Linked DNA regions of Homo sapiens: region 1 is linked to region 2. The links are contacts of gene promoters, found by promoter capture Hi-C in blood cells and fetal thymus (Javierre and others, 2016). All regions are on one chromosome and are shown on one strand. Each heading gives the region's core, a stretch centred on a gene start or on the middle of the fragment in contact. The rest is flanking DNA. Distances are from core to core; before and after follow the strand shown.

What was found. Contacts are between HindIII fragments. The CHiCAGO score rates a contact against its expected background, and 5 or more counts as called.
Region 1: the fragment with the promoter of PODXL here is called in contact with the fragment with the promoter of AKR1B1 in region 2 in 2 of 17 cell types (endothelial precursors and activated CD4 T cells); the score reaches 6.3 in endothelial precursors.

The regions. Positions count from the first base shown.
Region 1 is chr7:131,552,715-131,559,824 of GRCh38, forward strand. PODXL (podocalyxin like) reads right to left here and starts at 3,914. Exons shown (of 9, transcript NM_001018111.3): 1 at 3,546-3,914. The coding sequence starts at 3,645. RefSeq lists enhancers at 1-3, 4,302-4,849 and silencers at 3,535-4,044, 4,125-4,184, 4,215-4,334. The HindIII fragment of the contact is 4,965 bases long and covers 575-5,539 here.
Region 2 is chr7:134,454,902-134,461,723 of GRCh38, forward strand. AKR1B1 (aldo-keto reductase family 1 member B) reads right to left here and starts at 4,199. Exons shown (of 10, transcript NM_001628.4): 1 at 4,096-4,199. The coding sequence starts at 4,161. RefSeq lists a silencer at 3,809-3,998. The HindIII fragment of the contact is 6,251 bases long and covers 642-6,822 here.

The DNA.
Region 1 (7,110 bases), core at 2,664-5,163, 2.9 Mb before region 2:
GCTCCTGCCTCAGATCCTGTCCCAAGCTGCACCATGCTGGGAACACCCACATTCCCCCACCCCAGCCCTGGGCACCTTGTTTTTTTCCTTGAGTCAGGGTCTCCCTCTGTTGCCCAGGCTGGAGAGCAGTGGCGTGATCTTGGCTCACTGCAACCTCTGTCTCCCACGTTCAAGCAATTCTCCTACCTCAGTCTCCTGAGTAGCTGGGACTACAGGCGTGTGCCACTACCATGCCCAGCTAATTTTTTTGTCTTTTTAGTACAGTCTTACTAGGTTGCCCAGGCTGGTCTTGAACTCCTAGGCTCAAGTGATCCTCCCACCTTGGCCTCTCAAATTTGCTGGGATTCCAGGCGTGAGCAGCCACACCCTGCCACCGTGGAATTTTCTCTCCAGTTCTGAGAGCTAATCTCCCCAAAGCCTCAATGACTCCATCTCAAGAACCACCATCACAGACTCCCCGACCCTAATCTGCATCTCCCCTACACACTACAATTCATAGAGCCTCAGCCACATTAGGAAACACTGACCCTTTTAATTTTAAAATCCCTATGTGAAAACCCCACCTCCTTCAGGAAGCTTTCTCCAGACCTCCAGACCACCCCTTCCAAATCTTATACTCTTTTCCATATGCCTCCCTCTCCCACAGAGTGGCACTGGGGCTTCAGTTTTTATTATCATATATCCACTGATACCCACAAACATTGGCAGGATCCCAATGCCTGGGGTCCCTTAAACCCACCAGGTGCTCAATATATATGCTTACTAATCATCATAGCTATTTTTTGAGTGTTGATCCTGAGTTGGGCGTAAAGCCAAGCCCATGATATATATACTCGCTCATCTTCATAGCAACCCACAAGGTAGGGCTGTTATTACTTTATAGATGAAGAAACTGAGGTTCAGGGAGGTCCACTATTTTGTCCATGGTCATGCACATCTCTCTGACCCAAAGTCTGAGTGTTTCCACCCCACCAAGCTGCCTTTCTGTTGCCCAGAATTCATCCATTGAACATCAGATTGAGAGTACTGAATCAGCTTGTCCTTTCAGTAGCTGAGGGAACACGGAACCCCAGATATCTTATCATGGTGGAACTAGAGGTCCCTTTGGTTCTTTTATTCTATCTCACAAATAACGAAACGGAGGCACGGAGATGTGACTTACCATTGTGGTTCTGCCAGATGGTTATCAAACCAAAAAGCACTGAAAGGGGGTCTGATGAATTGTCCAACCCTTAAGGTGAATGCTTTCTTTGCTGTAGGCTGCATAATCTGCCCATATATTGGAAGGTAAGCTGGGGGAGAGGGGCAGGGATGGACCTGTCTGGGGATAATTCCTTTGTTGCAGAGACTCGAGCTATAAATCTTTCTTGCTTTGAATCAAATCACAGGATTCCAGCAGATGGGGGGCAGTGTTTATGCTATTCCCGATGACAGCAGCCCAGGCGACCACACCTTCAGAAGGACAGGGATGGAGCTGGCCTTACTGAGTCCCTAGAGGGTGGTGTAGAATGCACCATAGCTACTGAACAGACCAATCTTGCCGCAACATGCCCCCCACAAGCCTTTTCTGGCCTCAATACATGCAAATCATCATCACCATCATGATCATCATCCTCTCCCCATCCCCCACTTAGCACTTTGCACTTTTCTAAGTGCTTCCCAACAGTGCTGCATACTATAATGCATACAGTGCTCAGATAGGCCAAGTTACTTGCTGGTTAGAGCAGGCACTGGGTTATGGTCATTTTTGTTTGCCACATACCAAACTTCTGCCATGTGCCAAACCCTGTGTTAGGCCAGAAGTGGTGCTTCATGGAAGAGACATGGTTTCTGGCAGTGCCCAGGTGCCAGGAAAAACAGTGCCATCCTTGAAGCCAGCAGTGAGCTGGAGTCAGAGCTTTGCCCACTGGTGACTTATGAACATTTCCTTTTAGGGCAGACAGGGAGGGTCTTGTCCCACAGTGCCTCCCACTCCTCAAAGGAAGGGTGGCTCAGCTTCCTTAAGCTCAGAAGCACTAGGGACTAACCCCTCTTTCCTGACACAGCCCAACGCCCTTCTGGGTGGTTCTAAGAGGCTTCCCAACAAAAGGTTCGTATGAAGGCCCACCCTGAAGTCCAGCTGTCCCCAGAGTAGGGCTAAGGAGCCACCATACTCTCGTGTCATCTCAACCCTGCATGTCGTGTGGCTCTTCAGTGATTGCCACTCTGAAAGCTGTTCTGACTGTTCCTCACACTGCAGCCCCTCTTCCAGGGACACACATTCTTCCCCCCGCCGGGACCTTCCCTTTCTAGTCAGGCTGGTGGAGTCTCCCGCCGGCCACAGGAGGATGCCCACGCCTGCCTGCTCCCTGAGTGCCAGCGCCTGCCCACTACCAAAGGTTTCCTGCGGTGCAGAGGAGAGACTGTACTGCCCTTCCATCTCCCCTGGCCCCTTAGAGTCCAGTCCCAAACTGCCGGCACCTGCTCACAGCAGAATCCCTACCCTGTCTGTGCTGTCCCCGCAGTCCTCCTGGCCCTAGGGTGATCACACCACCTCAGCTCTTCCTGCAGACATGTGCTCAGGTGGGCAAAAGAGAATGAGAAATGCACCTCTCCCGTGGGGCTGAGCTGACTCTGGCTGTTCCCTAGGGGCTTAAGAACACCTGTTCTGGTTGAGTTTGCAGCCATCGCCTGTCCCCCAAAAGGGAAAGAGTAACATTTCACCTTGAAAAGAAACAGGGAGGGGATGTTTCTGAGGTGCAGGTGTTTCATGAGAGACAGGTACATTTTCTAAGGTGTGTCTAAAATGCAGCCCAATCCTATTCTACGAGAGAGAAGTTCCCGTTTGAACAAGTTCCCGTTTGAACAAGAGGATTCGAGGGGGGTCTCACCATCGTAGCCACGCACTAAGAAGCGATTGTTTTAGGGACACGGAGGTAGGACCCCCACTCAGCCAGGTGACTCTGGGACTGTGGAAGGTCCACTTACGACTCTGTACCTGCCCCAGCACGGGCTCAAGGAGTTGAGCCTGCACACATTACTTAGAAAAAACCTCTGCAAACGGGTAAGTACATCGCCCGCGTGGGCCGTGGCTGGAGGCTTGTCACCTGCTTCAGGGACTTCCTCGGGAGCCTCTCGCCTGCCTCTTTGCCTGGAATTAACGAATACACACTACAGCCCCTCATTCCCTCCAACACGAAGGAAAGGTGTAATCAGATCCCGAGAGTCCCGCAGAAGCGTGGAGCCTCGCGGTGCGGTCTCCCTTTTCTTTCCCATGCAAACCCACTTAGCACCGGCGCGCCCCTGTTTGCCCGGGCAGAATCCACCGCCCACTCCTCCCGAGTGGAGAGTGGAGACGAATCTACGCCCAGGCCCTGCACCTGCCGCGCTGCGGAGTTTGGAGGGGGCGTGGATGGTGCAAGGTCAGGGCTCCGTGTGTGACCCCGGCGGTGATAGGGCTGCTCGGGGTCGGACCACGCGGCGCGCCGGGCTTCCCTGCAGCTCGGCCGGGCAGGGGGCACATGGGCACGGTGGGAGTCCCGGCGGAACCCAGGCCGGCCACTCACCATTCTGGGAGGGCGACGGCGACGGCGACGGCGACGACGGCAGCAGCGGCGGCGTTGACAACAGTAGCAGCAGCGCCGAGAGCGCCAGCGCGCAGCGCATCGTGTCGTCGCCTCTGGGCCGGGAGCAGGTGGCTGCGGTGCCGGCGGAGGATCCGCGCGTCCGGGCGGTAGGAGCGTGGGCGCCGCCCGGGGAGGCCTGTGGGTGGCTCCGGAGGCCAGGCTGTGGCCCGGGGCTCCCGAGTCGCGCTGCGGCGGCTCTTCCTCCCTGCCGCTGCAGCAGAGCCGGGCTGGGGCGCAGAGCCAGTGGCAGAGGAGCGGCGGCGGCGGCGGCTGCGTCCTGGGCGGCGTCTGCGCGGCTGCGGCCCCACTGGCGGCTGCGGCTACTCCTGGCCCGTCCCGTCAGCGCCGGCCCCCGCCCCCGCCCCCGCCCCTCCCCCTCCCCCAGGAGCCCGCCAGCGGCGGCGGCCGGGCCGGGCGGGGCCGGGGCCGGGGCTGGGCGGGCGCTGGGCCGTGAACAATGAGCAGAGGAGGAAACTCCGCCCTGGAGCGCGACGGGCGGGAGGGCCGGCGGCCTCCGCGCCTTGGGGGGCTGTGTGTGCGCGGGGGCCAGGGCGGGGGGCTCCTGCGGTGCAGCCGGGCCCCGTCCACAGGTGTCCCGAACAGGTGTGTCCCCCCGAGTGCTTCTAAGTGGGCCCGGCGGGATCCCCCAGCACACCGCCGGGGCCCTCGCACTACGAGCAAATCCGGAGCGGGCGGACCCCCAGCCTTGCGTGGTAACTGATAACCATTCACGGCCTCCCGGGCTGCTGCGCGTTCTGCAGCGACCCCGGAGAAGCTCATCTCCCACCTGCCAAGTGCAATTCACCTGCCTGTGGGGCCCCCATCCCGCACGGCTTCTGAGCGGGGTCTCTCTGCAGCTAGGTGTGCAGCGGGCAAGCTGGACTAATTCACTCCTTCACCTCTCCAAGGGTAGGTTCCTTACCTGTGAAATGGAGATGATGGTTAAAAAACAACAGCAACAACAATTTCAGGGATGAATGTGTGCCAGGCTTTACATATATTAATTCTTTTACTCTTCATGACAACCATATTTTTAGCCTCATTTTGCAGACAGGGCAATTGAGTCAAAAAGAGGTTAAGAAACTTCCTGAGGCCACATAACGGGTAAGTGGCAAACCTGCCTCTGAGAGAAGTTTGGAGAAATACCGTGCACCGTGCCTGGAATATAGTAATTGCTCTGCAAGGAGTGGTTATTACTCTTATTCCTGCTATATAAAGAACAGCTATAAAGATTAGGGCTTTTGGGTCAAAACAGGCTGGGGCTCAAAACCTAACTGTGCCAATCTATTAATTGTAAAACCCTAGGCAAGCTATTCTCAGTACCTCATTTCTTTTTATCTGTAAAATAGGGATAATAACACCTACCTCAGGGGGTTGTTGGGAAACTTAAATGTGATCTTACAAGATAATACTTAGCCTAGGGCCAGGAACACAAAAGTCTCAATGAATGAAGTAGTTCGCCCTCCAAGTGAGGATCAGAGATATTTGCACACTGGGGGTGGGAGTGGGTGTTGGAGAATTCCGTAAACTGAGTTTATCCGGTGAAAGAACAAAGAAGTTCCTTTCCCCTCCCCCGCTCCCCTCCTTTTTTCCACCCCCAAAGCTGCCTGGGAGACGCAGACCCCAGGCCCGCCTGAAGAGGAGGCACATCGGCGGAGCCGGGAAGCGGAGGGGGCGAGGGGTGATTAACCTTGGAACCCGGGTACGGCGTAAATTTGGCTCACGTGACTCCGGGGTTGCTAATCTGGAGTCTATCTGCCAGATGGGGCTGGGTGGAGGGGTTTTCTCCAGGATCTAGCCGCGTCCCGGGCACAGGGGACTCCGTGAGCCCCTCAAGTCGGCTGCAAGCAGGCGATGCCTGCAGGGCACTGCGTCCCTGGAGCCGCGAAGGAAGCGCTGGAGCCCTGGCTGGGGTTCCGTGGCAGCCGGCCTCAAGCTTGGGAAGGGCTGACGGGGTTGTTTTCATCAGGAAGTTTCTGCAGGATCGTTCTGGCCCCGTTTTCCACACCGCATATGGGAAAGACAGAGGGTGTTCCCTATGAATACTCTGGGATATTTGTGTGTGTGACTATCTTTGATGTTTTTTTAGTACTGTTCCCCTGATATCATGTCAACAAAAGGCTTGTTTCTCTTCTGAAACCAAGCAATATATATATATATTTTTTTTTACACTGGGATTTTAAAAAATGTGTATCGCACTCTGATTTAAACAGTGTTTTTGCACTCAATCATTCAATTTATCTAAAAACTCAGAAGCAATCATGTTAACTTTATAAAGAGAGAGCGTATATTTTGAAGCTTAGGGCATTTTAAATTCACATGATTTGGGATTGGTGCCATTACAAGATCATGCAAAATTAAAATGAGAGCAGACATCTGGGCTTAGAGAAGACATAGAAAAGTTACAATTGTGCTGGACTCTCCCCAGTATCCAACAGCCCCCCTCAACTTATGCACAACGTGGCTTTCTGGAATGAGGCTGGCTGGGTTTTGAGGTCACTGGTGGCCACTGAGATGAGCTACCCCCAGGTAACTGGCCTGTGCCTTTGGCCCCATTTAGCATTGTGCTCTAACTAGCAAGCTCGCCAGCCCAGAACACCTGAGCTTATATTTGAAACCCAAAGCACTTTATGGGTGCTGTTTTTGAAGCTTTTCATCAGGAAGTTTCTGCAGGATCATTCCTTCTGGGATTTGTTGCATTTTGGTTATTTGTATACATGCGTTAGCTCTCCTAGCAGACATTCAGCTTCTTTAACATGGCGTCTTTCTTATTCATCCTTTACTTACTCAGACCACCAAGAACAGCACATCACTTTTTTTTTTTTTTTTTTTTTTTTGAGACAGAGTCTTGCTCCTGTTGCCCAGGCTGCCTCCGCCTCCCAGGTTCAAGCAATTCTCCTGCCTCAGCCTCCTAAGTAGCTAGGATTACAGGCATCTGCCACCACACCCGGCTAATTTTGTATTTTTAGTAGAGACGGGGTTTCTCCATGTTGGTCAGGCTGGTCTCGAACTCCCGACCTCAGGTGATCTGCCCGCCTCGGCCTCCCAAAGTGCTGGGATTACTGGCGAGAGCCACCGCATTTTTATCAAGCAAATGGTTTTGCTGCCCCATGGGCACAGAAGCCAATACTATGAAGCACTAGCTTTGGAAAAAGCAGCGGCTTTATTTGCAAAACTGGTCAGCAAAGAGACAGGAGTGAATTCAAATCTGTCTCCCCAGCCAGGCACGGTGACTCATGCCTGTAATCCCACAACTTTGGGAGGCTGAGGTGGGCAGATCACCTGAAGTCAGGAGTTTGAGACCAGCCTGGCCAACATGGTGAAACCCCATCTCTACTAAAAATACAAAAATTAGCCAGGCTTGGTGGCATGCGTCTGTAATCCTAGCTACTCAGGAGGCTGAGGCAGGAGAATTGCTTGAACCTGGGAGGTGTAGGCTGCAGTGAGCTGAGATTGCACCACTGCACTGCAGCCTGGGCAACAGAGCAAGACTCCATCTCAAAAA
Region 2 (6,822 bases), core at 2,949-5,448:
ACTAGTTGAGATGTGCATGGACCAGGACTGACCCTGTAGGGGCAGGGCTTATTTAAATGTCTTTGGTCTTGAAGAGGAAGAGATGGGGGCTTTAGAGACACCAGGGAAGTGAACAGTAAATCTGGCTCCTGTGTTACCTCCATGCCCACAGCGCCTCAACCCTCACCCCATCCAAGGATCTTGGGCCATCACAAGCTTACCCCACTTGGGGAAGGTGGAGCAAGTCTTTCCTGGCACATTTTCTTTTACCTCATGCATTCTTAAAGTGGGTGCTATTGTCCCCAAAGAGACAAAAATTAGTTCTCTGGGGCAAAAAAACCCCCCTCAGCTTATAGAACAGCTTGTGACCCTCTAGAAGGCTACTGGCCATAAGCAGAAGTACAATATTATCTCTGATATTACAATTTTATTTTGGGGCAAATTAGGGGAAAAAAAAGTCTCACAAGGCTCCTAGGTGGGAGGGAGGTAGTGATCATGGCAAAAGATGGAGAAACATAGTTGTACCTTCAGCCCTAGGAGTATTCTGTGAGCATACATAGGAGACTTACAATGACTTTTACCTCCAACAATTTTTCAACTAGATTAAAAACACTATCAGTAACAAGACACTGGTGGGCACCAGACATCATCTCTGTTTTAAAAGCTTCCTGGCTTTACAATGCTGTGATGGGTTTTTGTTGTTGTTGTTGTTTCTGAGACCGAGTTTTTTTTTGCTCTTGTCGCCTAGGCTGGAGTGCAGTGGCACAATCTCAGATCATGGCAACCTCTACCTTCTGGATTCAAGTGATTCTCCTGCCTCAGCCTCCCAAGCAGCTGGGATTACAGGCACCCACCACCATGCCGGGCTAATTTTTGTATTTTTAGTAGAGAGGGGGTTTCACCATGTTGGCCAGCTGGTCTCGAACTCCTGACCTCAGGTGATCCACCCGCCTTGGCCTTCCAAAGTGCTGGGATTACAGGTGTAATTGTTTACTATCCAATGTAGAAGGCAAGACTGCCAGAAAGAAACCCTGTCCAAGCCACATGGGTCTGGGGCAGAGATGGTCTCCCCATCTGCCTGAAACCCTCACCTGAGAAGAGAATGGAGTTTGAGGACCTTCAAGAGTAGAGACTACCAGAGCCCTGCTGAGGGTCTGAAAGGTACAACACAGCCGCTACGGCATGGGAAGACCCAGGAGAATAAGGAACTGCACCTGCCTGCAGGGCCTCCTCCAGCTGTCACAAAGACAGGCAAAGGATCACATCTTCTGTCGAGCATCTGTGAAAGAATACATACACACATACAAGGGAAAGGTTTTTTTGTTTGGTTGTTTTTTTAGATGGAGTCTTGCTCCATCGCCCAGGCTGGAGTGCAGTGGCGGGACCTCGGCTCACTGCAACCTCCACATCTGGGGTTCAAGCGATTTTCCTGCCTCAGCCTCCCAAGTAGCTGGGACTACAGGTGCGTGCCACGATGCCGGGCTAATTTTTTGTATTTTTAGTAGAGACGGGGTTTCACCATGTTAGCCAGGACGGTCTCTATCTTCTGACCTCATGATCTGCCCGCCTCTGCCTCCCAAAGTGCTGGGGTTACAGGTGTGAGCCACCGCGCCCGGCCCCAGGGAAAGGTTTTAAGTCATTAAAAAAAAAAAGGAAGTTGATTCCAAGTCCATCCTTATACCATTACTTTGACCCACCATTCCCCGCTGCCCCCACCGTACAATTCTACACCAACCTGATCTCCTCATCCACAGGAATACAAGTGGGCGTTTTCACCATACAGCTATCTCTAAAGTCGTTTTACTTCTTCATATGAATTCAACACATAACTTTTGGATACCTACTCCTATATTTGCCAGGCACTGTGAGAAGTGCTAGAAATAGTAATGAATGAAGCAGACATTATCCAATTTCTCAATGAACTCTGTCTACTGGAATGCATAACCTAAATGTACAGATGTTATGATGTGATGTTATCTTAAACAAATACATAGCTTTTTGGGGCATTGAGTGCTCAAGTGAATAATCTGAAACCCTCTTTCATAAACTTTTACTCCTCAGCCTGGACAACATAGGGAAACCTGTCTCTACAAAAAATTAAAAACAAACTACCCGAGTGTGGTGGCACACACCTGTGGTCCCAGCTACTTGGGAGGCTGAGGTATGAGGACCACTTGAGCCCAAGAGGTTAAGGCTACAGTGAATCATGATCATGCCACTGCACTCCAGCCTGGGTGACACTGAGCCCCTGTCTCAAAAAAAAAAAAATAAACTTTTACTCCTTATTTACCCTAGAGTAGTGATTTTCAAATGATGGGTCACAAAACTAGCTTCTGGAGGTATGACAATAATTTTTGGAAAAATGGAATAGAAAAAAATATTGAAATGCAGCCTACATAGGTTAAGTACTGTTAAGTAATTTTTATTCCAGTTACATGTATATATCTGTGCGTTGCATCATGCTTAGAAAGTATTTGCTATTGCCAAGAAAGCATCCTTCTGCATCCATTCCAAGAGCATAACATGCAACAGATGGAAATTAGCTTGGTGTCATGGTTGTAATTCAATTACAACCTTAGAGACACCACTGGAGTTTTTGGAGGAAACAAATCACGTACCCTGATCATTCTGGCCAAGAAACACTCTCCCTGATGCAAATGACCTTTTTCTTACCTTATATTTACTAATTTTCAACAGCAGGTTTTAGGGTACATGTAAACTCTTCTGTCCTATTTCAAACATCTCACAGTTCACTCAGTTCTTTCTGTTGTTTTCTTCCCTTGTCTGTGTGTAAATATCCAACGCCCAGGCCCATATTCAAATTTTAAGAGAAAAACCTGGGACGTGGGCCTGCCAGATGGTTCACACCTGTAGCTTTGGGAGGCGAGGTGGGAGGAGCGCTTTGAGCCCAGGAATTGGAGATCACCCTAAGCAACAAGCGGAGACTGTCTCTGCGGGGAAGAAAAAAGATTAGCCAGGTGTGGTGGTGAGCGCCTGTAGTCCCAGCTACCCGCAGTGCTGAGGCAGGAGGATCACTTGAGCCCAGGAGTTCCAGGCTGCAATGAACCATGATTGTGCCACTGCACCCCAGCTTGGGCAACGAGACCCTGTCACAAACAAACAAGCAAACAACAAAAACAGAAACTGAGAAACCCAGGTTATGGCTGTGGAATATAATATGCAATACTTAGAAGGTTAAAAATTCTAGGTTTTGCCTCAGCTCCCATACCACCACCTTTGTTGCTCAATTTTCAGATAATCAGGCTCAGGCTATTATTTTTGGTTTTTCATATCATATTATCATTTTTCATATCCTATGATGTTTCATGTCCTATTGTCATTCTCATCCGGCTAGGCACTTCTCGGGGACGCTGTGTGGTGTTGAGGTTTTACAGGGAAAATGCTAACCTTGGCGCCTCCTGAATTATCAACTAGCTACGGGGTGCCCAGATTTTTCTCCCGAGTTCCAGACCCAGGGCACCCCGAGGCGGCGCCTGGCCGAGGAGCTCCGCACTGCGCCTTGTTAACAGCTGGGTCCGGGCAAACTCGCGCCACCTAATTCTCTGCCCTCTACCGGCTTGAGATGCTTATTCCTCAGGGAGGGCAAGAATCGAAACGATTGAGACCAACTATTTACAAGTGAGGCAACCGGGCTACAGGTGCCTCGAGGGAAAGGAGGCTGGGTCTGCGCTCCCACACCTTGCCGACGGCTCCACGTCCCTGTCTGCGCCCGAGGTCCACCGGTCTGTGAAGCCCACTTTCCCCGCCTCCCTCTCGCGTTGTGCCGCTTGGGGCGCCCGCTAGGACCCAAAATGCGGACTGGTGGGCCGCCCATCAAGGGTTGCCCGCGGTAGGGCGGGGGCTCCCGTGAGCTGCTCCCAAACCCCACTCGCAGGATGCTGCCCTGACGCCCAGGGCCAACCCGGGGAGCCAAGGCCCCCGGTCTCTGCAAGGCCGACCCCAGCCCGCTGGGGACCCTGCAAGCCCGCGCGTGGCTCCCAGCACGCCGGGCGTCCGCGGGGCGAGCTGCTCAGGGTCACTCGGGGTCCCTCGCCAATACAGGCCGCGCGGAGAGTGTGAGGCGAGCCCCGGGCCCGCGCCCCCACGAGCACCTACCTTCCAGGTACCCAACCCCAGGATGGGCATCTTGGCGCCGTTGTTGAGCAGGAGACGGCTTGCCATGGCTGCTGCGCTCCCCAGACCCCCGCCCAGTACGGTGCGGCCTTGGCCGCGGCGCGTACCTTTAAATAGCCCGTGAGGTCGGCAGAAAGGGCGCCTGCGGTTGGCGCGCCGCTGCGCGAAGGAGCCTTCTGATTGGTTGCGCTGGGGGTGCCGCGGCGGCCTTCCCCAAGGGTCGGCGGGGATGCTTCTTCCGCCTGGTCCTAGTGGCAGCGGATTCTTTCCGCCCCCAACGCTCGCCCGCGCCCCGCGTGGCAGAAAGGAGTTCCTCAGCTGCTGTATCTGGTGGGAAAGCGAATGCTTTAGCGAAAATAACAGGCATCCCATAAATACATAGACTAGAAATAAGTTTTGGTTTCATTAAGAGCCCAGAAGAATGCCTTTGTTGTCCAACCCCAGTTTGATGCTCTTTGGGAATCTGACGAATACCTTGTCCTTAATCTATGTGAATCATACTGACTACACATATAGTTTACCGCACTTTGTTCTTAGACAAAGGTGCATGCCAGAAAAATGGCTTGCAATCCTTTTGCAAAGCACCTTCACAAAATATGGGTTTGCCCAGACTTTTTGTAGCCTTCTAGATCTCTCTTTGCACCCCACTCTAGGTGTTAGCTGTGTCTGTGCATACTAGGTGTGGTTCAGCAAGCCTTCCACCAAAAGCCAGCATCCTTTGATGTTCTTGAGGTTAGAAAGCCTTGATGGGCTTGATCCAGAACTCTCAGAAGAATTTGGAAAGTAAGGCTGTCCATTCAGAATCAGTAAGACAAATTTCATCAGTCTTTGGAAAGTGAGACTCTATCAAAGCAGTAAGTTCCAGTACAGTAACTTATCAAAACTCTCTAGAGGAAGAAAAGTGAACAGACAGAAAACCACAGAAGAAAAAGTTGACTCTAATATTGTAGCTTCCAGTATTTCAAATTAGAAGGTACAAAATAGTAAATTGATCACCCTAATTGGCAGGTAGAAACACACATTTTTCCAAGATAGCCTAAGAAAAGTCACTTGAAGATCCTTGAAGACAATTTTGGTTTCTTTCCAACAACCTCTCTTCATGATACTCTACCTCACCCCAACTGCTCTTTCTGCTCCATCACCCTCCGATCTTTCCCCTAATTATGCAAGATTGGGAACTCCATCTGCCTGGTAGTGACTCAAGCACCAGGTCTCTCTAAACTCCATGCCGGTGATTTTCCATTTGGTGCTTTCTTTAAAAGTGCTCCCTCCTGGAAAAATTTATACAGAACAGACTAGCCCAGATATTTTTCCATGTAACTTTTGTAAAAATTGTTGCTATTGGGCAAATTCATTTGTCCCCAAGTAATAGAATTTGAACTTGAGCCTAAAGCTGGGAACTTGCTTTGTGTAAAACAGCAAGTTCCTTCCTCCATGAGAGTCCTCTTGACTTGGAGGTTGCTCTGCCAATTGAACCTCCTGGGTCCAAATCCAAAGAGCTAATCTCTTGTGAAAATGATACACCTTGAGTGGCCAGGTTGGTACACACAGAAGGGTCGTCTGTTAGGGACATGGACTCAATATCAGAGGCTTTGTTGTTGGTTTGATAATAATTGAGTATACAGCTTGATTGCATGAAGTTATAACTGTGTCTAAAGCTGGAGTGATACCTGTAGTCTCAGCTTCTCAGGAGGCTGAGGTGGGATGACTGCTTGAGCCCAGGAGTTAGAGACCAGCCTGGACAACATAGCAAGACCCTGTCTGTAAAATAAATAAATAAACCCAGAATATTTTGGCTGGGCCATGCAGACATGAAAAGTTGTATCAGTGGAATTTCTATAGCAACAATAGCACTCTAGTTGGGACATGCTATTGTGATAGCCCCCTAACATCCCCCATTGCCTCTGTAATCTTTGTAAAATGTACACATACCAAAATTTTTGATCTCAAGATTTTTGATCTCCCATCTTTTGATAAGTATACATATCAAAATTTTGTTTGAAAAAGGGAAAAAAACCTTCAATGGAATCCTCCTGAGAAACACTCTAGTAATTGGAATCTTAACATGCTCTGAACCAGTAATCTCCCATCATGGGAATTTTTCCTAAGGAAATAATTTAAAAGGAAAACACACACACACACACACACACACACACACACACACACACACACACACACTAGGTATAGGGCTGGGCTGGGACCAAGGTAAGACAAATGAGGTACACAGGTACAAATTTTCATGCCAGAAGGTAGGAGCTTTTTTACATTTATGTCCTTGGCACTTGCCTTCCCTTAGTCCCAGGCCTGCACACAGATATACACATATGCGTATGTATTTTTAAAATGCTGTATACTTAAAGTAAAACTGTAAATATCCAACAATAGCAAGAGATAAGGTGTAGCCATCAAAAGTAAAGATGACAAAGACACAGAGAAAAATGTATATGAGGTAATGTTAAGGTGAAAGTAGAAAACAAAGTCATATAGCTATGGAATGATGCTAAGAAGGAAAATACAACCTATAACATTTAGGAAATTTAGGAAGAAGACAGAAGGAAATGGGGAATACTCTTTGTCAGATTATTTCCTTAATGAACACATTTTGAATTAAAAGACAACTTCTTATGAACTGTCCAATTCCCATAGGATAAAACCTAAACTCTTGAGCCTGGCATTCAAGGCCCTGCGAGATCTGGTACAAGTTTGAAT